7 separate regions of the Homo sapiens genome follow, and regions 1, 2, 3, 5, 6 and 7 are each linked to region 4. Evidence: promoter capture Hi-C in 16 types of primary human blood cells and fetal thymus (Javierre and others, 2016). All regions are on one chromosome and are shown on one strand. The core of a region is centred on a gene start or on the middle of the fragment in contact, and the rest is flanking DNA. Distances in the headings are between cores, read along the strand shown. Region 1 overlaps TRAK1 (trafficking kinesin protein 1). Region 2 overlaps TRAK1 (trafficking kinesin protein 1). Region 3 overlaps TRAK1 (trafficking kinesin protein 1). Region 4 holds the start of ENTPD3-AS1 (ENTPD3, EIF1B and MYRIP antisense RNA 1). Region 5 overlaps TRAK1 (trafficking kinesin protein 1). Region 6 overlaps TRAK1 (trafficking kinesin protein 1). Region 7 has its middle 34 kb from the start of TRAK1.

Region 1 (3,462 bases), core at 26-2,525, 1.7 Mb before region 4:
CCCTCCTCCTCAAGTGGCCTACATTCTAAGGTTATGCAACCAGCTCCATACCATGAAAACTAGGTTGTTATTTTTTAAATATACATTAAAAAGACTACTATGATTGCACACACACACACACAGAGTAATATTTCATTACATGTACAATTTACTGTGGTCATACAAGGCTGCACACAAGCACTTTAGGACTATGGGTCTTTGTTCTTCTTCCGTTGGAGAAATGGGTTGTGAAACAAAAGAACGCTTTTGTCTGCTAAAGATACATCAGGGTTGTTTTATTTTAAATCAGTGACAAGGAACTGATTCGCCGCTCAACAAACACCAAGAAGGTAGCGTAAGTTTTATTCTATTGGGGGAGGAGTGAATATAAATGGATTTATGGCCAGCCAACGTGCAAAATTTTTTGAAACCTGTCACTTTGGGACTAAATAAATAACTTCTTAGTAATGTTTTGTAACTAAGACTTCAGTGAATAATTCTGTTAAGAGTCAAAGCTTTCCTAATGACCCACATTCAGTAACAGCCCATGCGACACATTTGGGAATTGAAGTGTATTACTAAGTCAAACTCAGCAGCATTACAAATGGCAAACAGCAACTGGAATTCAATAGGTCTCTGAATATTTTATTAAATGCAAGTAGAGATCATCCTAGTAAATTAGCTCAGAGAAATCGGATCTGTTGGAATGATTTTCTAACTTAGGGAGGAGACCTGAAATCTGGTTCTAAATCTGAAACCCTACCAAGACAGTGCCACCAGAGCCAGCAGACAAGACCCCTCCACCCAACACTTTCATGAGATCCCTCCTGTCCAAGCGTGGGGGGAAATATGCTGCCTCAGACAGAGCTGCCAGGGAGGGAGAAGCAAGGGAGATTTATAAGGGTAGCTTTAAACCAGGATCTAATTTGATGTAGATGAAGTCCAGCTCAAATTGCTCTAGATAGTCCATCAGCTCGAGGTCACACAAGTGCTTAAGTGAAGACTCCTATGCTACCAACCCGAGTTAGTCTTCTTCACGCACAGCTGTGATGGTCTGCAGGCGTGCAGATACAAACCCTGGGGCCCCCCAGCCAGCACGCCAAAGCATCTGCAGCACCCTTTATACACCAGGTAACAGACCACAGCAACTAAGTGGTCTCTGTGTTTAAATTTGTGTTGTCACTTGAGGGCCTGCTTATCCCCACTCACCGGCGCCCACTCTCCTCAAAAAACTGAGTCCTCTGCCTTCCTGGAAAAAAAGAAAACTGGGCTACCTTTTAACTAACCTGGCTCTATTATCTGTACAAGAAGATTCAGAGCTGCTATTTCTCTAACACTATATTATTTAGAGATAATACTCAAATTTTTAAGGCTAAGTTTTTGAATTAAGGTAACTGTAATTATTCAGATAGTCAGTCATGTGTAGATAACCACAAGCAGACAGAAGAAATAACACAGAGGGGGCCGGGTGAGGTGGCTAATGGCTGTTATCCCAGCACTTTGCGAGGCCAAGGCAGATGGACCACTTGAGGTTAGAAATTCGAGACTAGCCTGGGCAACATGGCAAAACCCTGTCTCCACTAAAAAAAAAATTTTTGTATATATATAAAATTTTATATATATTTTTGTATATATATAATTTTGCATATATATAAAAATTTTGTGTGTATATATATATATACACACAAAAATTAGCCAGGTGTGGTGGCACACACCTGTAGTCCCAGCTACTCGGGAGGCTGAGGCAGGAGAATCACTTGAACCCGGGAGGCAGAAGTCGTGCCACTGCACTCCAGCCTGGGCAGCAGGGCAGGACTCCATCTTGAAGAAATAATACAGAGGGATCCTGTATACCCTTTATCCAGTTCCCCCAATGGTAACATTCTGCAAGATCATAATATCCCAACCAGGATATCAGCACTGATACAATCCATAACTTTTCCTCAGAGTTCCCGTTTTACTTGCACTTATTTGTGTGCACATGTGTGTATTAAGCTCTATGTAATTTTATTACCTGTGTTGGTTCATGTATCTACCACTTACAAGGACCCCTTGTGTTGCTATTTTATAAAGCTTTAAAATATTTTAAAAATTGAACCCAATAAAATGCACACCTGTCTCTACTAAAAACACAAAAATTAGCCAGCCGTGGTGGCAGATGCCTGTAATCCTAACTTGGGAGGCTGAGGCAGGAGAATTGCTTGGACCCGGGAGGTGGAGGTTGCAGTGAGCTGACCTTTACTAAGCACAGTGACCATGGCCAGGCACCATTCATAACCCTCTATATGGATTATTTTATGTAATCTTCAGAGCAATACTATAAGGGGTAAGCACTTATATTAACACCATTTTACAACAGAAAACTAAGGCCCAGAGACGCTGAATAACTCACCCAATGTCACACAGCTAGCAGGTGGCAAATGTCAAAATAACAGACTCTCGGTAGAGGTAGCAGCTAACACCGATGGTGCCCCTATCATGTCAAGGGATTTAACATGCTTTCTCAATTAATCTTCACAACAACCCTGCAGGGTAGTCGCGATGACTACTCCACAGATAAGAAAACTGAGGCTCTGAGACATTAAGAATCTGGATGTTAAGGACCCCACTGAGGTCACAGAGAATGAGGCTGCATTGCAGAGACTGCACCGAGGCCAGTCTGGCTCCTGTACTAAAACGGAAGACCATAAAGGACACGAGAGCAAGGCACAAACCATCGATGTGTAGGAAGTGTGTAAACAGAGCGAGCAGCATTTGGGCCTAGGGGAAAGAAAGAACCCTGACCTTGGGTTCAGAGGCTTAGGTTTTCTCAGGAGACTCTATCCAAGCCAAGGGGCTCTGAGCAGCCACCAACTAACTTCTAGGTTTTAGATTTCCTGTTCCAAGAAATAAGGAAGCAAGAGTGAGACCAATGAAGGTGAAAAAATAATAAACCATGCCTTCAGACAGCATAAACACAGGTTATGCTTTTCAAATACCAACTTCCTAGGCACTAAATCTTCAATCAACCGTGGTCAAGTTTCTCTCTCTATAAGAATGTATTTCAAAGAGAAGTTCCATTTCTGACCCAAGGAGTGCTACCAAATAAATCCACTTCCACCCAAAAGATGTTTCAAAAAAGAAAGAAAAGCAAAATAAAGGAGCCACCATAAACCTCTACGATAATTTTTTTTTCTTTTGTTAGAGACAGAGTCTCGCTCTGTCGCCCAGGCTGGAGTACCATGGCGCAATCTTGGCTCACTGCAACCTCGGCCTCCCTGGTTCAAGCGATTCTCCCACCTCAGCCTCCCAAGTAGCTGGGATTACAGGTGCCTGCCACTATGCCCAGCTAATTAGTGTATTTTTAGTAGAGATGGGGTTTCACCAGGTTGGCCAGGCTGGTCTCGAACTCCTGACCTCAGGTGATCCACCTGCCTCGGCCTCCCAAAGTGCTGGCATTACAGGCATGACCCACCGTGCTCAGTCTCTATGATAATTTAATAT
Region 2 (3,343 bases), core at 788-3,287, 1.7 Mb before region 4:
TTTTCTAGGACTTTCTGGAAGTTCACAATTTGTCTTTAAAACCTAAGAAGAAGAGGAGCACAGTGGCTCACAGGCCAGTGGTGGCTCACGCCTGTAATCCCAACACTTTGGGAAGGCCAAGGCAGGACGATCACTTGAAGCCAGGAGTTTGAGATCAGCCTGAGCAACATGGTGAAGCCCTATGTCTACAAAAGATTTTTTTAAATTAGCTGGAAATGGTGGCATGCGCCTGTAGTCCTAGCTACTCAAGAGGCTGAGGCAGCAGTATTACTTGAGCCTAGGAGTTCGAGGCTGCAGTGAGCTATGATCACACCACTGCACTCTGGCGTGCCCAATAAAGTGAGACACCCCATCTCTAAAAAATAAATAAATAAAAATTAACACTAACAAAAGATAATAAGAGGAGCTGAGGGATGCTGTCAGCTGTGTTCTATTATTTCCCTTAATCTGGACTGGGAAGGACAATAGTCAATCACTGTCGGTACCCAGAGCCTCAACATTGCTAGGTTTTGAACACTGCACTGGTCCAAGTTGGTCTCTGGGAATCTCAAAACTGTAAAAACTGTGGCCGTACGTGATGTCTGGAGACTCGGCCTCTTCCAACTGCAGCTCCTTGCGCATCGTTCCCTCAATCTCTGCTGCCAAGGAATCCTGGGAAAAGCCAGAAAGACAAATGTCAAGTGAGCGCCAATTCAAATGCTCTGTCTCTAAAAGAGGTATGCACCCAGGTGGGCCATGGAGAGTAAACCAAGGCATCAGAAGCTCACGGTCTTCCCACAACACAAACTTAACAGCACTCTCTGTTGTCAGAGACCCTGGCTGAGCAGTTTCCCAGGCAGGTTCTGAGTGTGGCAGTGCCACTGGGCACTGAGTGTAAAGCTGCTGACTCATATGCCATTAGGTGTCTAAAAGCAAACCCTATGCTCCGTTGGCCAAACCATGGAGCTGTAACCATGGCTACGAGATGGGATGCAGAACTTATGAGGGAGGGGTGATGTGTTCAGAATGATGGAGACAGGTGAATTTCCAAATACCTCTGAGCTTACAGTGAGATATGGCAACAGAGCCCATACAAGCCACACAAAGCTATTGTCCCCCTAGTCTACAGGGTCTGTCACACCCCCTCTGTGTCTAAGATTCTGACACCAAGAATAGACCAAGGGCCTCCAACTTCGGCTCCTGGGGAAGCCTTTCCCACCTCCAAAGGGCACTCTGGTTCTGTGCTAGTGAGAGGGTCTCTACAGACGTGACGTGAGTCACACGCACTGCCATCTCTAGGTCCCTGCTCTCATCCTCCCTGGCCTCCTGCAAGGGAAGTTCCTCTCACCGCCAACTATCCATGGCCCACCCACCTTTAAACAACCTGCCCAGGAAATGTAGGATTCCTGTTTCCACTAGGAATCTCACATTTTTTTCTGAAGCAGACACCAAACACAGTAAGTCTTTGCCACTCTTCTCAACAGCTCACATGTTTCTCTCTCCAGCTTTGTGGGTCAGGGGAAGGCTAGTCACTGATGGCTTCTCACTTCACCAATGGGCCAGGCCTCAAGCTGAGACTCAACATTAAAGGCTGCCAGATGGATGTCCCCTCTCCTGTACCACCCATCACTCAGCACTGTAGGAGGTGGAGCCTAACACACAATCCTTTACACATGGTAGATACCCACAGGACCAAGTGTGTGCAGAAAAGCACCAGTTCAGCACCAGAGGAGGATATCCATGGAGGATAACCTGAAGGGAAAGGCTAAATTCATGTTAAACAACAGAACAACCTGTGATGATGGACGCATCCTCTGTGCTGGGACATATGTACATGTGGAAACCACCAGCCAGGGGTGGCTAGTGAGCACAAGAAATGTGGCTTGTGACTGAGGACCTGAATTCGTAATTATATTTTAACTTAATTGATTTAAATTTGCACAGCCACATGTGGCCAGTGGCTTCCCAGCAGATACCGCCTGGGGACTCCAGGGCATCCACCTCAGCAGCTTCATGGTCCATGCGGATGCTCCGGTCTGGAGGCTGGAACCAAGCGGGGAGACTCCACAGGAGTCAGCAGGAAGTGAGATGAATAAAGGGCTAGCAGGCTTTTTTCAGTCCTTGTTCACAAATATGCATTTTATTTTGTAATTATTACCCACAGATTGCCATTAAACGTTATGTCCAGTAAGGACTTCCCTAGGTGAGTCTGACATCTTTTAAGCCAGCTTATTTTTTAATACTGTTATTCACCACATAATTTACAAATAGAGAAGAAAGGACCTTCATACACCTTAAGAAAAATGAAGTGTCAAATTACTACAGTCAGCCCTCCGTATCTGTGGGTTCCACTTCTTCAGATTCAACTAATCTTAGATAGAAAATTTGGGGGGAAAAAAAACAAAAAATAATACAAATTTAAAAATCGGTACAGTATAACAACTCCTTACATGGCATTTACATTGTATGAGGTATTACCAGCAATCTAGAGATGATCTTTTTGTATGTGGAAGGGCATGCATAGGTTATAAGCAAACACTATGCCCTTTTATATCAGAGACTTAGGCATTGAAGGATTTGGTATCTGCAGGGGGTCCTGGAACCAATCCCCCTCAGATACTCAGGGATGACTGTAATTTCAAAGCCATACTGAGAAAAAGTCACATGCAGGCTCTGTGACTTGTTTTTGGCCATGACCCTCTCCCCTCTGGCAATCCAGGCAAGTCTGTGGACTCCTTCCTGGAATAATATTTTTAGGCAAATAAAATTATGATTATAAAAGAAGGCAGATATGTATCAATATAACAACGTGTGTGTGTGTGTGTGTGTGTGTGTGTGTGTGTGTGAGAGAGAGAGAGAGAGAGAAAGAGAAAGAGAGAGAGAGAGAGAGAGGAGAAAGGAGAGAGAAATTAGTTCAGGACTGGTTACTGCTGTCATTTTGAAGTGGAGATCAGCATCTGTGGTGTTGTGAGGCAGCTGTAACAACTGAAATGTGCCATAGGGCCAGGCGCGGCGGCTCATGCCTGTAATCCTAGCACTTTGGGAGGCCGAGACGGGTGGATCACCTGAGGTAAGGAATTCGAGACCAGCTTGGCCAACATGGTGAAACCCCATCTCTACTAAAAATACAAAAAAAAAAAAAAATTAGCCGGGCGTGGTGGCACATGCCTGTAGTCCCAGCTACTTGGGAGGTTGAGGCAGGAGAATCGCTTGAACTCAGGAGAGGGAGGTTGCAGTGAGCCAAGATCGCACCACTGCACTCCAGCCTGGATGACAGAGCAAGACTCCGTCTCAAAAAAAAAAAAAAAAGAAGAAGAGAAAAAGAAATGTGCCATAAAAATACCTGTGATTTCTAATGATGACA
Region 3 (3,841 bases), core at 1,315-3,814, 1.6 Mb before region 4:
GGAGGGGAGGGGAGAGGAAACAGACAGAAAGTGGGTAAGGAGAGATGGAGGAGAGAAGAGGGTGAGAAGAAAAAAAATGAAACGAAGGGAGGAAAGGAAAACTTAAAGGTCCTCCAAGATACTCCTCCGGAAATAGAAACATCACTGGACCCTGGTGTTCACATAGTTGTCAGTATCACAGCAGTTTACAAGGTGAGACCTCCACAACCCTTCCCAGAGCACACTCTGATGGACCAACCTATCAGTATGTGTTTGGTCTGTTTTCTAAGGCAGATGTCTGGGAAATTTAAAAACTCAAATCATAAACTGTGTGGTGAGTCCTTGATATAAAGTTCAGGTACGCCCAGCAGGTGCCGCATGGTATTCAAAATCCAGAATTCGAAATCCAAGCCTACCAGGCAGTGATGTGCTACATGAGGGATGGAAAGGAAAGTATAAAAATAGGATATAAATAGTAATTAGAATTTTGGAGGCAATCACTCCATGAGCTAAAAGTAGAAACTGTTAAGCATTTATCTCAGATCACAGAAAAGACAATAAAAATTCCTCCAGGAAATACCGAAAATGCTCAGCCTCTACACACTGAGGAACGTAAATCAAGATCAGGGGCTGCTGCCGTTTATACACCTCAGCTGGCAAAGAGCAAATGTGCTCATACCAGGGGTGCAGACAGTGAGCGCCCACACACTTCTCCCACATCGTCTGAACACACACCATATACAACCTCTATGACTCACTCCATCAAATTACAGTCCCCAGCCTAGGAATTCACACAAGTACATTCATTACTTATTTGTTTAAATATGTGGGAACATGGCTATCCCCAACCCAGTGGTATTTGCAGAATACTGGAAACAATCTACTTGTCTTACAATAGGGAATTAATTAAATCAATCGTGGGATTTATAGACAATGAAAAATAGGCAGCCAGCAAAAAGAATATGATGGATGTATGCTAAGTGGAAAGGTCTCCAATATAGATTACTGAGGAGAAAAGGCAACAATATGTTTAGTATATGTTCCCGTGTGTAGAAAGCTTTCAAAGCAGGGGAGGGGACATACATACCATACAAACGCATGCACAGAACATTTTTGGAAAGATAAGCAACAGTCATTCCCTTGGGAGGAAAGGCAGAGGTCTGGGAATAAGATGAAGGTGGAAAACCTCAAAGTGTATTCTTTAAACTGTATGCATTTTTCTTGTTGCACACTGTTTAAGCCAATGCTTCTAAGAGTGAGTAGGAATGGTGCTTGAGGCACCATTTAAAATGCAAGAACTGAAAACAACTTACAGCACCCATCAATGGGGGCTGCTGCAGTGGTTCTGTCTTGGACCCTTGAGTAGCCAGCATGCTTCACTGCCTTTGTGGCTGCCCCCTTCACAGCAATTCTACCTGCAGGGGCAGGGCCTAATTGCTCATTATGTGTTCTAATGAGGCCACGTCCCCTCAGCGACATTTGAAATACAAGCTATGTCATTTTTCTTTAGTTTCTCCTTTATAGTACGGTAAGGCATTATACTGATTCTTTTAAAATTATGTGTTTGGCCATGCGCGGTGGCTCACGCCTGTAATCCCAGCACTTTGGGAGGTCGAGGCGGGCAGATCACTTGAGGACACGAGTTCGAGACCAGCCTGGCCAACATGGCGAATCCCCATCTCTACTAAAAACACAAAAAACTAGCCGAGTGTAGTGGCACACATCTATAGTCCCAGCTACTCAGGAGGCTGAGGCAGGAGAATCACTTGAACCCGGGAGGCAGAGGTTGCAGTGAGCTGAGATCACACTACTACACTCCAGCCTGAGCAACAGAGCAAGACTCCATCTCAAAAAAAGATAGAAATAAAATAAATAAAATTATGTTTTTAAGAGGATTCGTTATCTATGAATTTCATTTAAGGGTAACAAAAAAATGAATTACAAAATGCTTCTTCTAAAAAGAAATATTAGGTATTCCAGGACTGAGAGCTGCTGAGTTTTCCTAGCCTGTTCAGGCTGCTAGAGCAAAATACCATAAACTGGTGGCTTGTCAACAACAAACATTTATTTCTCCCAGCTTTGGGGACTGACAAGTCCAAGATAAAGGCACCACCAAATGTCTGGTAAGGGCTTGGTTCCTGGTTCACGGATGGCACCTTCTCACTCTGTCCTCACAGGGTAGAACAGGCTAGCTAGCTCTCCAAAACCTCTTTTATAAGGCCACTAATCCACTCATCAGGGCTCTGCCCCTGTGACCTAACCACCTCCCAGAGGCTCCACCACCTGATACCATTGCACTGCTGATTAGGTTTCAACATACTCATTTTGGGGAGACAAATATTCAGACCACAGCCTGGTTTAATTAAATGACTGATGATGATGATGATGATGATGATGATGACGATGATAAAGCCAAACAATGGGATATCATGTCGCTATTTTAAAGAATAAGGTAATAGTATGTGAATTCATTTTAAGTAATATGGTTAATCATCTTACAATGCAGATCAAGGAATAGGATATGGTCCCATCTGTGTTTTTTAGAAAATGAATATGTGCATAAAAACTTCTTGGAATGATTTTTTTACCCATTAAACTGCACTGATGGTAGAGTGAGAGCTGCTCTGCACTGACTATATTTTGGTACACTTTCAAGTTTTACCACGTGCATGTGTTATTTTCATAATTTAAAACCCCATTTAACAGTAAATGAAATTAGTAAAACAGAAAAAAAATGAAGAACAGTAACTTAAAGAGGGTCAGAAAACAATGCTGCCGGGTCTAAACCTCAAGGATCCCTATTTTATACAAGAGGTTAAGCTGCCTACTCTGTGCCTCCTCAAACGTGAAGGTGGTAACAGTACCCACCTCAGAGCTGTGCTGAGGACAACATGAGTTCCAGGAGCCACACTTGGAAACCTGCCAGGCACAGAGCTACTCCTCAGTAAATGGCAGCACCATTAGGATCTGTGAAGGCTAACTGTATAATATGTGTCTCCTTGACTGGGCCATGGGGTGGCCAGAAATTTGGTCAAGAATGATTCTGAATGTGTCTGTGGTAGTGTTTCTGGGTGAGATGAACATGAATAAGCAGGCTGAGTAAAACAGATGCCTCCTTACTGTGAGTGAAGTGGACCTCATCCAGTCAGCTGGGGTCTGAATAGAGCAAACAGGCTGACCCACCCCCAGGGTCTTCAGGACTGGAACACCAGTTCCCGGGCCTCAATCCTGTCAAGCCTTTGGACTGCAACTATACCATTGGGTCTCCCAGGCCTCCAGCTTGCCAACTGCACATCTTGGACTTGTCAGCCTCCACCATCAAGTAACACAATTCCTTGTAATACATTTCGATATATGTTTCTCCTATTGGCTCTGTTTCTCTAGAGAAACCTAGAACAGGATTTATAACATTATATTTCTTCCAGATCTAGTTATAAAGTTACACCTTTGCCGGGCACTGGGGCTCATACCTATAATTCCAACACTTTGGAAAGCTAAGGTGGTAGGATCACTTGAGGCCAGAAGTTCAAGACCAGCCTGGTCAACACAGCAAGATCCCACTGCTACCAAAAAAAAATAGCCAGGCACGGTGGCTCCAGCCCATAGTCGCAGCTACTTGGGAGGTGGACGTGGGAGAGTCACTTGAGCCCAGGAGTTCAAGATTGCAATACACCATGACTGCACTGCACCACTGCACTCCAGCCTATGTGACAGAGTGAGACTCTGACTCTAAAAGTAAAATAAAGTTTCAGCTCCTGATAGTTTCAGCCTGACTTGCTCAAGTTTTTCAGTGTTTATGAGAGATCAGGGCTCAGTGAAAACAGAGAAGTTTCTGACTCCAAAGTTCCCCCTGGGGCCATGA
Region 4 (3,466 bases), core at 967-3,466:
TGCAGTAGCTATTCACAGGTCTGATTGTAGCCTGCTACAGCCTTGAACTCATGGGCTCAAGCAGTTCTGCTTCAGCCTCCAGAATAGTTGGGACTACAGGAATACACCACCACACATGGGTTCCCAATATTGTGGTGGTATTTTATTCTTTAGATTTTTACCCAGGCCAGTGCAGAGAGGTGTTACCTTTTATCACTTGATTAAGGTGATGATCTTTGCCATGACAGTTCCCAGATGTATTTCAAGCCTTTCCTCTAAGCTCTATGCCAGCATATCTTCCCTGAGACTGCTCTAGCAGCCTCCTAAATTCTGTCTTTAATCTGTTCTCTGCTCAGCAGTTAGAGGGATCTTTTAAGTAAGTAAATCAGATCACATTATTTCCTGTTTTTAACAGTTCGATTGCTTTTCATAATATTTGGAATAAAATCTCAACTTCTTACTCTGGCCTTGTATCATATGCTTTAATACCCAGATACACCTTATGCCATCCCTCCTTCATTGTGTTGAAGCCACACTGGTCTTGAATGGGCCAAGCTCTCTCCTCCTCCATGACCTTTATACATGGTGTCTCTCTTGCCAGGAATGGTCTACCCATTGTTAATACTCATCGTGTAGCAGTGCCAACTTATCTCTTGTATTTTTTCCTAGATATTTTTCTGAGAGTTAACCAGGCTACCACATAAAAAAAGGTTAAGTCCCCACCCTTCTTTTTCTAGCTCACCTTGTTTCCCTCAGAGTTATCACAATTGCAATTGTTTGACTTGTTTTGCTGCCCACGTAGGTGTTGTTTCGTTCCAGTTAGAATAAGTTCCATGAGGGCAGGACCTTTGCTGTCTTTTCTGTTTTATTTTCTCACCTTAGTCTGGTAAGGGGCTCAATAAATAGGTAGTGAATGAATCAGTCTTTAGGTCTTGTTGTCTTGCTTTATAATTTACAAAGCAAAAGATATGAATGAAGAAGAATGTTCATTTTAGCATTTTTTTTGCTACTATCTCCAAACTGGAAATTACCCAAAGGCCCATAAACAAGAGACTGGATAAATTGTGATAACAATCTATAGCAACGGAGTCTACAGCAACTACATGGAACAATGCGGATGAATTTCATAAATAACACTAACAAATAAGCTGACACAATATATCCTGTATGCTTTTATTTATATCAAATTCAAAACAGGCAAAACTAATCTACAGTTCTTATAAGTAATGATCATATTTACCTTTGGTGCAGGCAGCAGTGGCTAAAGGGGAAAAGGGGAGCTTCTGAGCTGCTGGCCATGTTGTTTCTTCATCTGGTGTTAACTACGGGAGTGTGTTATTATTTTTGTTTTAAATTTTTTTAGAGACGGGTCTTGCTATGTTGCCCAGGCTGATCTGGTACTCCTGGCCTCAAGCCATTCTCCTGCCTAAGCCTCCCGAGTAGCTGGGATTAGGGGCACGGGCCACCCCGCCTGGCTGAAGTGTTTGCTTGTGAAAATTCAGAGCCCTATCCATATGGTTTATGCGTTTTCTCACCAAATGTATGTTAACCTAAAAAGTTTTTTTTTAATGCAGTTTCCTGGCTGTACAACCAGAGAACTTTATTTGCAGGTCTGGTGAGGGGCAAGAATCTGCATATAAAAACAAGCTCTCAAACACACTTTGAACTTCCCCGAACACAATTTGAGAAACACTTTGGGACTCCCCCTACAGTTACAGAATTATTTTCTAAAGTACATTATCTTGTTATATCACTCCTGTTTAAAGTTGATTTTTATCCCCTATCTTACAGGATATAGTCCAAACTCCCTAGTCTGGCATTCAAGGCACTCCAAAATCTTACTCCCAAACACCTTCCTAGCTTTTTTCTCCGACCATTCTGCGTCTCTCATTCCTATTTCCCGCAGCATTTCATGCAGCTTGAGCCCCCTGTTTCCTAAAATGTGCTCCCCACAAGCATCTCGAGATCCCCATCCCAGGCAGCCCCAGGCAGTTTTTAAGTTTCTACCAAGCTCCACTATACTGGCAAGGCAACTTTCCCCAAGCAAGTCTTGTTTCCTTCGGAAGGTCGCAGGCGCCCAGGAATGAACAGGATAACTGCTAGTGGCTCCAGATGTCAGAAAACAGATGACCAGATCGAGCACGCGCAGATCTCTGGTTGGTCGGCTGTGTGCCTCCGGAAGGCCCGCCCTGCTCGTCCAATCACGGAGAGGGAGGGCACGTTGAGAGTGATGCCAGGAATCAAGATGGCCGCCTGGGACCGCTCTCAGCCCCTTCGGCCTCTACCTGAAGAGCCACGCCCCGTCTGCTACACCCAACTGATTGGTTCCTCAATCACAGAGAGGAAAGGCAACATGAGGATGACGTCAGTTACAAATATGGCGTTTTGGACGGGCTCGATAGTTTGCTTGGCCTCTACTCAAGGTGCGTCCGGACGTCCAATCACCAAGGGGCGCAGTCGGCTCTTAAATGTGGAGGCAGGGGCCTAGACACTCAGGCTTAGGGGATGTCAGCTGGTACTGTGTACGAGCTGTCCTGTAAACCGTCGCCCGTCCCCTGAAGCCGCGCCCCTCTTCTCTTGCTTGTTGCAAGGGACGGATGTGAAGGGCTGGGCGGGCGTCGAGCTTTGGGTTCTTGCAGTGGGTCATAGACCTGAGGGCACTAGTCCCGCGGCCCAGATGGGGGATGCGAGGGACAGTAGGAGCACGTCCACTTGTCCCACAGTCTCTGCGGTGTCACGAGGCCAGGACTGCCTGCCTGTAACCAGATTGGCCCCTGTATTTGTCAGCTTCAGCTGACTAGATATGTCTCAGTTTTGTTTGTTCAGACACTGGCGATGGGGGCGTCAGTTTAGCAGACAAAATATTTACCTGTAGCCCCAAAGAAAAAGAAACATAAGTCAGTACAAGAATCAAACCAAAAGCTGTGCAGAACCCTGACTTTCTTTCTTGTTCTTAATAACTAACCTTCCAGAGAAGTGACCTAACCCTAGTTATGACCAAATTGACATGGTAGCCATGTGCATAACTACCTGGCAACGTGGACAGGTGCATTTGTATTTAGGAGTGAAAAAATGTTTGTTGTATCAGTTTTTGAAATTTGCAATCTTAGGAACCCTGAAGCTGAGCAAGACTGTTCAAGCCCAGTCAGCCTAAGACCACCAGGGACAAACCTGTAGTCAGCAAAACCAGGTCTATCGATCTTTTTTAATGAGGGAGATTGCACACCAGAGACACCATGGGACATTTTACCAGGGGAAGGAAAATATAAAGTTACAGGATTTTGAGGAAGTGTAAAGTTTAGATGGAACTTAAATGAAGCAGGGTTTTAATAGCCTCAAAACAAAGCAGGACTGTGAAAAAGGGTCAACATCAGGCCTAGACTGCAGAGTGGACCCATTGTCCTGTTTTTTTGAAAACCTTTTCTGAAGCTTTGCAACTGGCTGCTTGTAAATTGAAGCTGTATCTCTGTGTTAAAGTGACTTAGGT
Region 5 (3,569 bases), core at 61-2,560, 1.8 Mb before region 4:
AGGAATATCAGTATATTTTAGTTGTTTAATGCCCAGCTTCTAATGACTTTGTTGCCTTTTGCTTGAGGGGTGGAAAGGGGAGAGGAAGATGTGTCTTTGCCTGTCAGCTGCATGAGAAACAGTTCCCTTTCCATTAAACAGATAGGGAAGAAGCAATGCTTTATCTCTTCCTAAAAGACTAAAATATCAGGGCATGGAAGATGCTCTAAAGACTTTCCTGTCTCTTCATTATGTAACTCTGCCCATGATATTTTCAGGGGGAAAAAAAGTTCTATGATGAGTTCACGTGGGAAAAGCTGCATAAATAGTTTGCCCTACGAGTCATCATTAATACAAGTACTATGTTAGGGATTCATGTGGCTTTAACAAGTGTTTTCTCTGGAGGTGAGGAGTCGGGGAATCAAGAGCAGTTTCAGATGCAACAGTGCAACTTTCTTGTTTTAAAAAATACAAAAGTGATTTTAAACTGTAATATGTTGTACAAGATAACACTTTTAAAGGCCTTAGTTCTGGGCTTCACAGAGGCTTGGTATTTATTTTTTTCTCTGCTTAAGCATTTCTTCAACAGAGCTCTCGACTGCCCCTGCAGCTCCGTAGAGGTCCCTGAGCTCCTCGGTGATCAGACATCTGGCCAGCAGGAACCTGGGAGGTTTCTATCACAGAGATTTCGAACCACACATCACAAGATCTTTTTCTGGTTTCTGCACAACTTATTTTTGGTTTCTGCAAAATTAAAAGTCGACTCTTCTTCCCACTACACCAAGTTGCCTACCCTGTTTCATCTGAAAAGTATGTGATTTAAGAGATAAACAATTTCACAGCATTGTGCAGAGAGGGTCAGAAATTCTCTCAAGTGCCCCTGGGGTATCTTCTAGAGAGAGGGGGATTTTTAGAATGCTATTAAAACGTCCAAAGGGCAAATGCAGAAATCCCTTTGTAGTCTTCAGACACCAACAAAGCTGGTCCCTATACCCTCTGTCCTCTTGTCCTTCCTTCTGTGGCAGACACCAACAGGTGAAGGGAGCTGGCCTGGCTGAGCTGCATCAAGACCTTTCCCCACTAGTGCGTTCAAGGCCAGCACAAGAGAGCACTTCACCTGTGCTTCACTAGGCAGTGTGGTTGCACAGCTCCTCCTCTCAACACAGGGTGCTCCCTCAAGGGCCCTCCACATTAGAAGGGTGTCAGGTTCAGACACCTCCTCAGCAACCCACGTGCCTCTAGGAGCACCAGGGGGCCCTCTGTAGTGTTCAGAGGTGAGGATACCAGAGAGAAAATGCTCAACAAGTGGGCTTTGTTCTGGATATTTTAAGCAGGGTTGACTCTATGCTGTTTGTTTTGAAGGAGTCAATTCTTTCATTCTTCATTCATTTTTCCACTTGCAGGTGGCAGTTGGCCTGTTTTACTCTGGCTTAATATATATTCTGACGGCAGAGCACAGGGCTTTCCTTAGCATCTCCTAATACAGGTGGGTGTGAGCCAACTATCCACTCTGTCCATAACAACAAAACTCCCTCATAACTGCCATAAAACCAGGCTGAATCGAAGTGTTCCCAACAGCATGGGAACTCACATCAACTCTCTCAGTGTAGACAATGGGAAGGAACTTGCCTGCACCCAAGGGTCTGTGAATCGAGCATACCAGACTTTTCCTTCCAGACCCATCAAGCCCCCAAACCAACTTCTCACAAGCCTGTCTGAACCCCAGTTCTGTGGTCTGTGGTGTACTGAAGAGGGGACAGGATACAAGCTGGCTGAGCTTTGCTCTAGCTGCCCCGCCCGGGCAAAGCTGCAGGAACACCCAGCTGGCCTGACTCCGCCTGGCTCCTTCTCACCACAAGCCCTTCTCTGCCCTTTCCTCACTCAGTCACTGCTCCTGACCTTGGGCCTATGTATCAAACAAGGAGGCAACGAAAGAAGCTGATTCCTGGCTTTCGCCTTGGTGGCCCAGTTGCTGGAGATTTAGGGAATTTTTTAAGGGCAATTTTAGCCAAGTGTGTTTTTTGTCTTCCATTCTGACTTTAAGATCTCAGCTCTAGGCCAGATGTGGTGGCTCACACCAGGAATCCCAGCACTTTGGGAGGTCGAGGCGGTCAGATCACTTGAAGCCAGGAATTCGAGACCAGCCTGGTTAACAGGGTGAAAGCCTGTCTCTACAAAAATACAAAAAATTAGCTGGAATGGTGACGTGTGCCTATAGTCCCAGCTACTTGGGAGGCTGAGGCAGGAAAAGCACTTGAACCGGGAGGTGGAAGTTGCAGTGAGCCGAGATTGCACCACTGCCCTCCAGCCTAGGCAACAGAGCAAGACTCCGTCTCAAAAAAAAAAAAAAAAAAAAAATCTCAGCTCCAATTAGGACATGGTTCTACTGCAGGGCCACTGCCAGGTAAGATGTCAAGATGCCATGATTCGTGTAAGTTTTTGAGGATATCTCCCCTCAATATGAACCAGTCTTGATGAGTAAAAGCATTAAAATAAACTGACTGTCAATTTTCTCTATCCATGTGGCTTGAATCCTACTTCTTTCTCACCTTTAAGGATCAAAGCATTCAAGATAATTCAACTGAACTGCCCATCCACTAGCCAACTACCAATTTAACTGTGTGACTTTAACTCTTAATCCTTTGCCACATGCAGGCTCTTCCCCACACAAATGCCTAAAATACAGAGTACTGACAGAAAAAGATGATAACTAGTTCTGATAAAGTATACTTTCTATATAAATTAAAACATAAAACATATCACTGAAATAAAGTAAAACTATAATCTAAAACTTTTTAAACAATCCATTTTAATCATCTAAATTATTTACAATACAATAACATGGATTCATCCTTTTTAAGACATGGGATTGTAAAAATCAACAAGTGAATGATGCTTCAAATAATACATTTAAATACATTAATCAAATTTTTTCAGTGCTTAAAACTTTTTCTCCATGGGACAGCAGGCTCTGGACAAAAGTGCCTAGCATACAAGTTTTCCCAATTTCCTTCTATCATACCAGCTGCACATAAAAAGGTTCATCACCTCCTGTCTCCAAAGTGTCTCCCTACTGAGTGTTCCCAGGCAGACAATAGTTCCTGGGATAGTGCTGTTTGGTAACAGAAAAGCCCAAGCGTAGAGGACGGATTAAAAGGCAGGGACCAGACCACCATGGATACAAATCCCAAGACAGAGGATGCCCCATGCCTTCCCCATGAAGCTTATCTGTCTGCCTGTGTCTCCATGATTGCAGGCATAGAGCTACTTGGGACCTCCAGGATGATTTACTTAGCGATATGCTTTTTACATTCTAAGAATCAAAATGGTCCTGTAATTCCCAATAGAGAAAATAGAGCCAATTCATTGTTCTCCCCTCTCCCCTCTGAAGCCAGTTTTTAAAGATGAGCCTTACCCAGAAAATAAGCCCCAAAGAACTCTCATCTAAATGATCAGACCCTTCCTAAATTACCTTTGGCAACCTAGGTAATTCTTTTTTATTACACACCTCCAACCTGACCCTTTCTACAGTTTCAACTATAAATGTTCATGCCCCTCGTCAAATAACGTTGCTAGGATGAATTTGCCAC
Region 6 (3,353 bases), core at 534-3,033, 1.7 Mb before region 4:
GAAGTTACAGTAAGCCAAGATCACGCCACTGCACTCCAGCCTGGGCGACAGAGCGAGACTCTGTTTTTAAAAAAAAAACAACTGTATATTTGATTTTTCTGTGACATGACCAGCCTTATAAACATTAGCAGCAAATTTTCAGATGCTTTAAAGGCCCAAAGAATTAGGACATGGGATAGGATTATGGAGATGGCCCGTGCAGCTCTCCTTAACCTTGGCCACAAGGCCAAAAGCCCCACAGACCCCCTATGGAAGGAGACACCATGTTTGCCTCAAGGGGAGGACACATCCAAGGCCTGACATCAGGTAAACGTAACAGAAGAGTCTTCAAGAATTCCCCAGGAGGCCAGGCGCAGTGGCTCACGCCTGTAATCCCAGCACTTTGGGAGGCCAAGGCGGGCGGATCACGAGGTCAGGAGATCGAGACCATCCTGGCTAACATGGTGAAACCCTGTTTCTACTAAAAATACAAAAAATTAGCCAGGCGCAGTGGTGGGCGCCTGTAGTCCCAGCTACTAGGGAGGCTGAGGCAGGAGAATGGTGTGAACCCCGGAGGCGGAGCTTGCAGTGAGCCGAGACTGCGCCACTGCACTCCAGCCTGGGGGACACAGCAAGACTCCGTCTCAAAAAAAAAAAAAAAAAAGAATTCCCCAGGAATGCTTTCACCATGCCAAACATCAAGCCAGACCATTGTCTCACCGTCCCAGCAATGTGGCACACAGAGATTTGCCTGTTATTACAGATCAGTAAGCTGGGATGCACGAGGGCTGCGGCACATCTTGTTGGTCAAGTTGATTCAGCTAACTAAGCAGCAGATCAGGTAGGAGCAGCCTCAGCTGTTCCACTAAAAGCTGTGATCTCCCCTCCAACACCTGCTACCCAGCTCCTAGGAGGGTGCACTTGAAATGCTGGGGAATTCCCAGGATGTCATCATCAGGAAGTTTTTGTTCTAAACAGGTGGAAGACTTCATACTTGTGGTAGGCATGTAAAATGAAACATAATCACAAATTAGGGAGGTGTTGGAATAATTTTCCCCTTTAAAGCACAGGAAGCAGTAGCCGGGCGCGGTGGCTCACGCCTATAATCCCAGCACTTTGGGAGGCTGAGGTGGGCGGAACACGAGGTCAAGAGATCGAGACCACCCTGGCCAACTTGTTGAAACCCCGTCTGTACTAAAAATACAAAAATTAGGTGGGTGTGGTGGCATGCGCCTGTAAACCCAGCTACTTGGGAGGCTAAGGCAGGAGAATCACTTGAACCTGGGAGGCGGAGGTCAGGTTGCAGTGAGCTGAGATCACACCACTGCACTCCAGCCTGGTGACAGAGCGAGACTCCATCTCAAACAAAACAAAACAAAAAAAAGCACAGGAAGCAGAGGCAAGAATTTACTAACTTGTCTGCAGAACCACGGAGGGTCAGGAACCTGCACAGGACAGGAGCTTATTCAAGCTCCTGCTGTGAATGGACACTGCCGGCCCACCATGGAGGAAAGGAACCCTTTATGCTCTCTGTGGTCACCATTTCCCCACAGTTACAATTCACATTAGTAACAAGCTAATGTAAACAAGTCAAAATGTGTTCTCAAATAAGTCACAAATGAAGGGCATCAATTTCCTGACCAATCCCAAAGCCCAAAGGTCCATGGCTTCAGGTAGATATGCAATAACAACAGCCCAAAATCCCACCAACCCCCAGCCTGTCAAACCATCAAAAGGCCAGGCTCAACCATAAGGAGAGGCTTACCCCTCGGCATCGCCTCCTTGCCCAGTTACTGTAATGCCCCATGGTGGCCGGCCACATTGTGGCTGGTGCCATTTCTGGAAAAGAGCTTTTTATTTATTTATTTTTTTATTTTTTGTTTTAAATAGAGATGGAATCTCACTGTGGTGACCAGGCTAGTCTCGAACTCCTGACCTCAAATGACCCTCCCATCTCATTCTCTCAAAGAGCTTTTTAAATCATACTATTGCTCTTTAAAAACCTCCCAGCTCCCTATAAAGTGCTTCATCATTCTGCCTCTACGTTTCTACAGGAGAGGCTACTGAGTGTTTCCCAGTATGCAATTGCCACTTCTTCCTTTTGGTCATGCAACCCCCAAGATGTGGCTGGGCCCACGGCCAACCAGCTAAAAACTGTGTTTCCCAGCTTTCCCTGCAGTAAGGTGTATCCACATGCCTGGTTAACAGGATGTAACAGAACTTCCAAGTCATGCCCTTTCCGTCTGTCCAGTTGCAGAGTTGGCCTGGTGCTGGAGCCATGCTTAGCTAAATTAGTAAAGGCAATGCCCAGGAAATGACCAGAGCTACCTCAGCTGCCTGAAACACCCTGGACCTCCTTCCACTTGAACTTTTAAAAGTAAAAGAAATAAACAACTACCTTATTGAGGCTACAGTTCCAATTACTTTGGTCTCTGTTAAAGCAGCTAACTCAACACCCTAACAGCCTTTCTTATCAAGCCCAGCCTCTGCTATTTTCTCCAATTTCCCTTCACTTAAGGCATACCAACTTCTCACCATTTTCCAAACACATTTTTTTCACAAATCTGAGTTTTTAGACCAGCTGTTTTAGCTCCCTAGAATGCCCTTCACTGCCTAGCAAACTCCATCTTAAAATATCATTCAAATGTCACTCTCTATTGCAAAGCCTCCCTTAACCTCTCTTCTCTGGCTTCCACAGTTCTCAGTACATAAATGACTTCACTACGATGTTAGAAGTGTATTCTCTGTGGCTCTTCCCTACTAATTGTGAGCCCCTCAAGAGAAAAGGCTTTGAATTATCCACCTTACCTTCAGCCCAGCCCTTACTACTTTGCCAGGCAACAGTAAGTGTGAGAAGAGTGATGGAACAAGGGAAGGAGAGAGCAGCAGCCGGTGGCAGGACTAGTCTGTGAATCCCCTGCCTGTCCAGGACAGACACATGCCCAGCCTGCAACATGAGGCAGGTGGAGCCATCTAGTGTCAAGGTCTTTTCAAACCCACCTCAGTATCACCCTAGGTCTTTATCCAGCATAGAGGAAAGTCCCATGGGATGGTAAATGTCCCCTCAATTGCTCAGCAGATGTCAATCCAATACCTACCATTCTTATGACATCACTTTGAAAGTAAAATAACCTAAAAGGACTCTTTACCTCTTCAGAGGTATAACCCTTCCTAGGTTTTTCCCAAGGCGTAAGATTTGGAATGGACCCTCCTACCCAGGATGTGGGCTTCAGTTAGGGCCACCAGGGAGTGAAGAAAGTGTGCTGGAGCCTGCTTGGCACCTGGAAGGTGCAGAGCTGCAGAAGCAGCTGTGTCCATTCTCCACCTGACTGGGGCTAGATCCTCACCTGCAGAGAGCGGCTAGGAGGAGACTC
Region 7 (3,762 bases), core at 174-2,673, 1.6 Mb before region 4:
ATCTCTTAAGATACACATTTTTTCACATTTCAATATCTCTAAAATTGAATTTTGTCTTATAGCCAATCGTCCTTTACTATGCTTACTTTGTAGCATTTTTTGCTTTCTTAGAGGTACATAAAGCAATGGCGTATCTTACGATCTGTTGTGTGTGGGGGTGGGAGCTCAGCGCAACAATTCAAATGGGCCACCAAACAATGGGCAAGGCCCACAATGGACATTAAAGGGAGATCCCTGCATCAGCCAGGAGGTAGGACAGGTTGACTTTAAAGGTTCCCTCCAGGCCAGGCATGGTGGCTCATGCCTGTAATCCCAGCACTTTGAGAGGCCGAGGCAGGCAGATCGTCCAAGGTCAGGTGTTCAAGACCAGACCAGCCAACATGGTGAAACCTCGTCTCTACCAAAAATACATTAAAAAATAAGCTGGGCGTTGTGGCGGGGGCGCCTGTAATCCCAGCTACTGGGGAGGCTGAGGCAGGAGAATTGCTTGAACCCGGGAGGCAGAGGTTGCAGTGAGCTGAGATCACACCACTGCACTCCAGCCTGGGCAACAAGAGTGAGACTCTGTCTCAAAAAATAAATAAATTAAATTAAATTTAAAAATAAAGGTTCCCTCCAGTCCTCAGTTATCATAATAAAGATGAACATGATAAAATGAAATTTAAAGGCAAAAGCATACTTACAAACAAACCTTGTCTTCGTCAATCTCCACAACTGCCAAGGTACATGAGTATTATCTATATTTTAAAGATGAGGAGGTTCCAAGGAGTATTTTACCCAGAAGCCGGCCACAAGTCTCACTTCCCAATGAAATGCCCACTGTGGCAGAGCAGTAAGAGAAGCAGCAGCCAAACCAGAAGAGCTTAAAGGTGGCAAAAATAACCCAACCAAGGGGCGAAGGGCAAACCTGGGTAGCAGTAAAGGAGGAAATGATATTTGAGTTCAGCTTTACAAGGAAGCTCACTGAATGACATGTTCAGGTTTACAGGCATTTAAAATGAAAACGCCTTTCAGTTGGTTGTATTTTCTGGTTCCTTCAAATACTTAAGAATAAAAGCACAAACTGATTAACATGGTGTGGGCCACGTGTCAGGTGAACCAGGGTGAGTTCTCCAGGTTACAGGACACTTGATGGAGGAGAGACATGTGGCCTGCCCAAGATGCAAATGAGACAGAGCCAACCCCAGAATCTAAGTTCGTCTGCTCCCTTTCTGCTTGGCCACACACAGCAGGTCAGTGCTCGCCTTCCAGCAGGTTCTCCTCAGATCACAAGATGAGAGCAGCAGATACAGCATCACCAGCAAACATAACAAAACCTCCCCAGGAAACTGCAGCCCACTTGTTCTGATCCCAATCGGCCCAGTCACAACTACAGCAAAGGGAATGGGGCCACTGTGATTGGCCTGGACCAATCAATACCCACTGGACGCCTCCTCAACCCCTACTCCAGCATGCTGCAAAGGAGGCTTAAGAATGGAATGAAATCTGGATTCTATTAGGAAAGAAGAAAGTGTGGCAGAGATGGATGTGAATTGGCAATCAATTTCTGTTACTCCCATCATTCACCCTTCATTCCTTCCCTTCTTCCTTCATTCAAGAAGCAGGACCGTGAACCTACTGTCAGTCTTTGTGGAGAAAACAATTGCACAAAACTGGATTCCAGCCCTCCAGGAGCTCATGGTCCATCCATATTTACATAAGAATATTCCATTTTCCTTGGTATCCAAAGTAGCACTGGACAGCCCAGGTGGTCTAAACAGCAAAGAGTAATTTAGAGTGCCTTTAATTACTGCACCTTAAAATGCACCAGTGTCCTAGTTCCCATCTTCATGATCACTGCCAGCCAGGAGGTTGCTGGATCTCAATCGGCCAAAGTGGCAGAAGGTGCCCTTCACCAGGTCCCTGTTCTATTCATGGCAGCTGTGCACGGCTCAGGTTACAGGTTGGTTCAAATCCACAGAAAACTGGCTCCTCTAACTGAGGCAATTTTGGTACTTTACTTTGTCTCTCACACAAGATTTTTATTTTTAAAATCCTAATATTGGAAATAGAAATGTTGAGCTAAAAGGTATTAAGAAGGATGTAGAATAGCCTATTATTACAATCGGGGCAGAAAAAAGGACTGTGAATTCAAAAATATACAAGCACTCAATATTGTATCCTAACATGGCATACATTTAAAGGTTAAGATATGAAAAATGCATACTTTTATGTTGCACTTGGGACAATATTAAAAAGTGGAAATTTTAACCTTTCTTCTAGATTTCTGGGTAAACAAAAGAATGTTTTTAATTTCAAAATTTCTAATAATTCTCCAGGGTAAAATAATCTCTTTAATAATCAGCTAATAACTTTGCTCAATATAATTTTAAAATCAATTATATAAAATATTTCTGCTTCTGTTGAAATGTTTTTAACATCTGTTATCCAATAATTATTTCAATAATAATTTCAAAAGTCAACAAGCACATGAAAAAATGCTCAACATCATTAACCATCAGGAAAATGCAAATCAAAACCATAATGAGATACCACTTCATACCCACAAGGATTTCTATAATCAAAAAGACAGATAATAACAAGCATTGGCAAGGACATGGACAAACCAGAACCCTCACTCACTGCTGGTGGGAATGTAAAATAGCGCAGCCACTTTGGAAAACAGTCTGGCAATTTATCAAAATGTTAAATACAGAGTTACCACATGATCTAGCAATTCCTCTCATAGGTATCAACATAAAGAAATGAAAACAAATGTCCACAATAAAAAAAAGTCTACAGATGTTCACAGCAACATTATTCACAATAGCCAAAAAGTGGAAATAATCCAAAAGTTTACCAACTAATGAAAGGATAAACTAAATATTAAAAATACATAACAATGGAATATTATACAGCAATAATAAGGAATGAAGTACTGATACCTACTACAACATGGGTGAACTCTGAAAACGTTATGCTAAGTGAAAAAAGCCAGTCACAAAGGACTACATATTGTATGATTCCATGTATAACAAATGTCCAAAAGAGGAAAGTCTATACAAACATAAAGTAGATTAGTAGTTGCCTGGGGCTAGAGGATTGGGGGAAATGGGGAGTAACTGCTAATGGATACAGGGTTTCTTTTGCGGGTGAAGAAAGTGTTCTAAAATTTATTGTGGATGGCCGGGCACAGTGGCTCACATCTATAATCTCAGCACTTTGGCAGGCGAGGAAGGAGGATCGCTTGAAGCCAGGAGTTCAAGACCAGCCTTGGCAACATAAGGAGACTCCATCTTTACAAAAAAATTAAAAAATTAGCAGAGCATGGTGGCACACGCCTGTGATCTCAGCTACTCAGGAAGCTGATATGGGAGGATTGCCTGGGCCCAGGAGGTCGAGGCTGCAGTAAGCCATGATCACACCATTGCATTCCAGCTTGGGCAACAGAGCAAGAGAACCTGTCTCAACAAATAAGATTTGCTGTGGTGATGTTGCACAACTCTGTAAACACTGAAAACCATTGAATTCCATACTTTAGATGTGACAACTGAATGGTATGTTAATCATATCTCAATAAAGCTGTTATTTTAACAAAGCTTTTTAAAAAGTCTATGGGAGAGAGTTTTATAAAGAGAGAGAGTTTTACGGGCAGTTTCTTTGGGGTGTCAGAACTATTTTGTATCCTTGGGGTGGTTACATGACTCTATACATGTGTTAAAATTCAGGCTGGGTGCAGTGGCTCACTCTTGTAATCCCAGCACTTTGGGAGGCCAAGGAGGA

What was found. Contacts are between HindIII fragments. The CHiCAGO score rates a contact against its expected background, and 5 or more counts as called.
Region 1: a contact is called between a fragment that was not itself captured here and the fragment with the promoter of ENTPD3-AS1 in region 4, in 2 of 17 cell types (M0 macrophages and monocytes). The highest score is 6.7, in M0 macrophages.
Region 2: a fragment that was not itself captured here is called in contact with the fragment with the promoter of ENTPD3-AS1 in region 4 in 2 of 17 cell types (M0 macrophages and total B cells); the score reaches 5.6 in M0 macrophages.
Region 3: a contact is called between a fragment that was not itself captured here and the fragment with the promoter of ENTPD3-AS1 in region 4, in 1 of 17 cell types (naive CD4 T cells). The highest score is 5.1, in naive CD4 T cells.
Region 5: a contact is called between a fragment that was not itself captured here and the fragment with the promoter of ENTPD3-AS1 in region 4, in 1 of 17 cell types (naive CD8 T cells). The highest score is 8.9, in naive CD8 T cells.
Region 6: a contact is called between a fragment that was not itself captured here and the fragment with the promoter of ENTPD3-AS1 in region 4, in 1 of 17 cell types (M0 macrophages). The highest score is 6.5, in M0 macrophages.
Region 7: a fragment that was not itself captured here is called in contact with the fragment with the promoter of ENTPD3-AS1 in region 4 in 3 of 17 cell types (naive B cells, neutrophils and monocytes); the score reaches 8.4 in naive B cells.

What each region holds. Positions count from the first base shown.
Region 1 is chr3:42,172,846-42,176,307 of GRCh38, reverse strand. The region is part of intron 2 of TRAK1 (trafficking kinesin protein 1); the gene reads right to left. Among named protein-coding and RNA genes, the nearest start is that of TRAK1, 83 kb to the right of the region's middle. The HindIII fragment of the contact is 1,558 bases long and covers 497-2,054 here.
Region 2 is chr3:42,196,485-42,199,827 of GRCh38, reverse strand. It overlaps TRAK1 (trafficking kinesin protein 1), which reads right to left. Exons shown (of 16, transcript NM_001042646.3): 11 at 575-651. Among named protein-coding and RNA genes, the nearest start is that of CCK, 68 kb to the left of the region's middle. The HindIII fragment of the contact is 4,138 bases long and covers 1-3,343 here.
Region 3 is chr3:42,094,258-42,098,098 of GRCh38, reverse strand. All of the region lies in intron 1 of TRAK1 (trafficking kinesin protein 1), which reads right to left. Among named protein-coding and RNA genes, the nearest start is that of TRAK1, 4.8 kb to the right of the region's middle. RefSeq lists an enhancer at 2,814-3,113. The HindIII fragment of the contact is 3,051 bases long and covers 1,039-3,841 here.
Region 4 is chr3:40,452,058-40,455,523 of GRCh38, reverse strand. It overlaps ENTPD3-AS1 (ENTPD3, EIF1B and MYRIP antisense RNA 1), which reads left to right and starts at 2,216. Exons shown (of 4, transcript NR_040100.1): 1 at 2,216-2,402. RefSeq lists enhancers at 2,323-2,392, 2,413-2,482. The HindIII fragment of the contact is 7,917 bases long and covers 1-3,410 here.
Region 5 is chr3:42,211,823-42,215,391 of GRCh38, reverse strand. The region is part of intron 14 of TRAK1 (trafficking kinesin protein 1); the gene reads right to left. Among named protein-coding and RNA genes, the nearest start is that of CCK, 53 kb to the left of the region's middle. RefSeq lists enhancers at 710-819, 1,776-2,277. The HindIII fragment of the contact is 3,789 bases long and covers 1-3,204 here.
Region 6 is chr3:42,118,550-42,121,902 of GRCh38, reverse strand. All of the region lies in intron 1 of TRAK1 (trafficking kinesin protein 1), which reads right to left. Among named protein-coding and RNA genes, the nearest start is that of TRAK1, 29 kb to the right of the region's middle. RefSeq lists an enhancer at 2,702-2,791. The HindIII fragment of the contact is 5,871 bases long and covers 1-3,353 here.
Region 7 is chr3:42,055,164-42,058,925 of GRCh38, reverse strand. It overlaps a transcript of TRAK1 not described here. Among named protein-coding and RNA genes, the nearest start is that of TRAK1, 34 kb to the left of the region's middle. RefSeq lists an enhancer at 1,294-1,403. The HindIII fragment of the contact is 4,315 bases long and covers 1-3,580 here.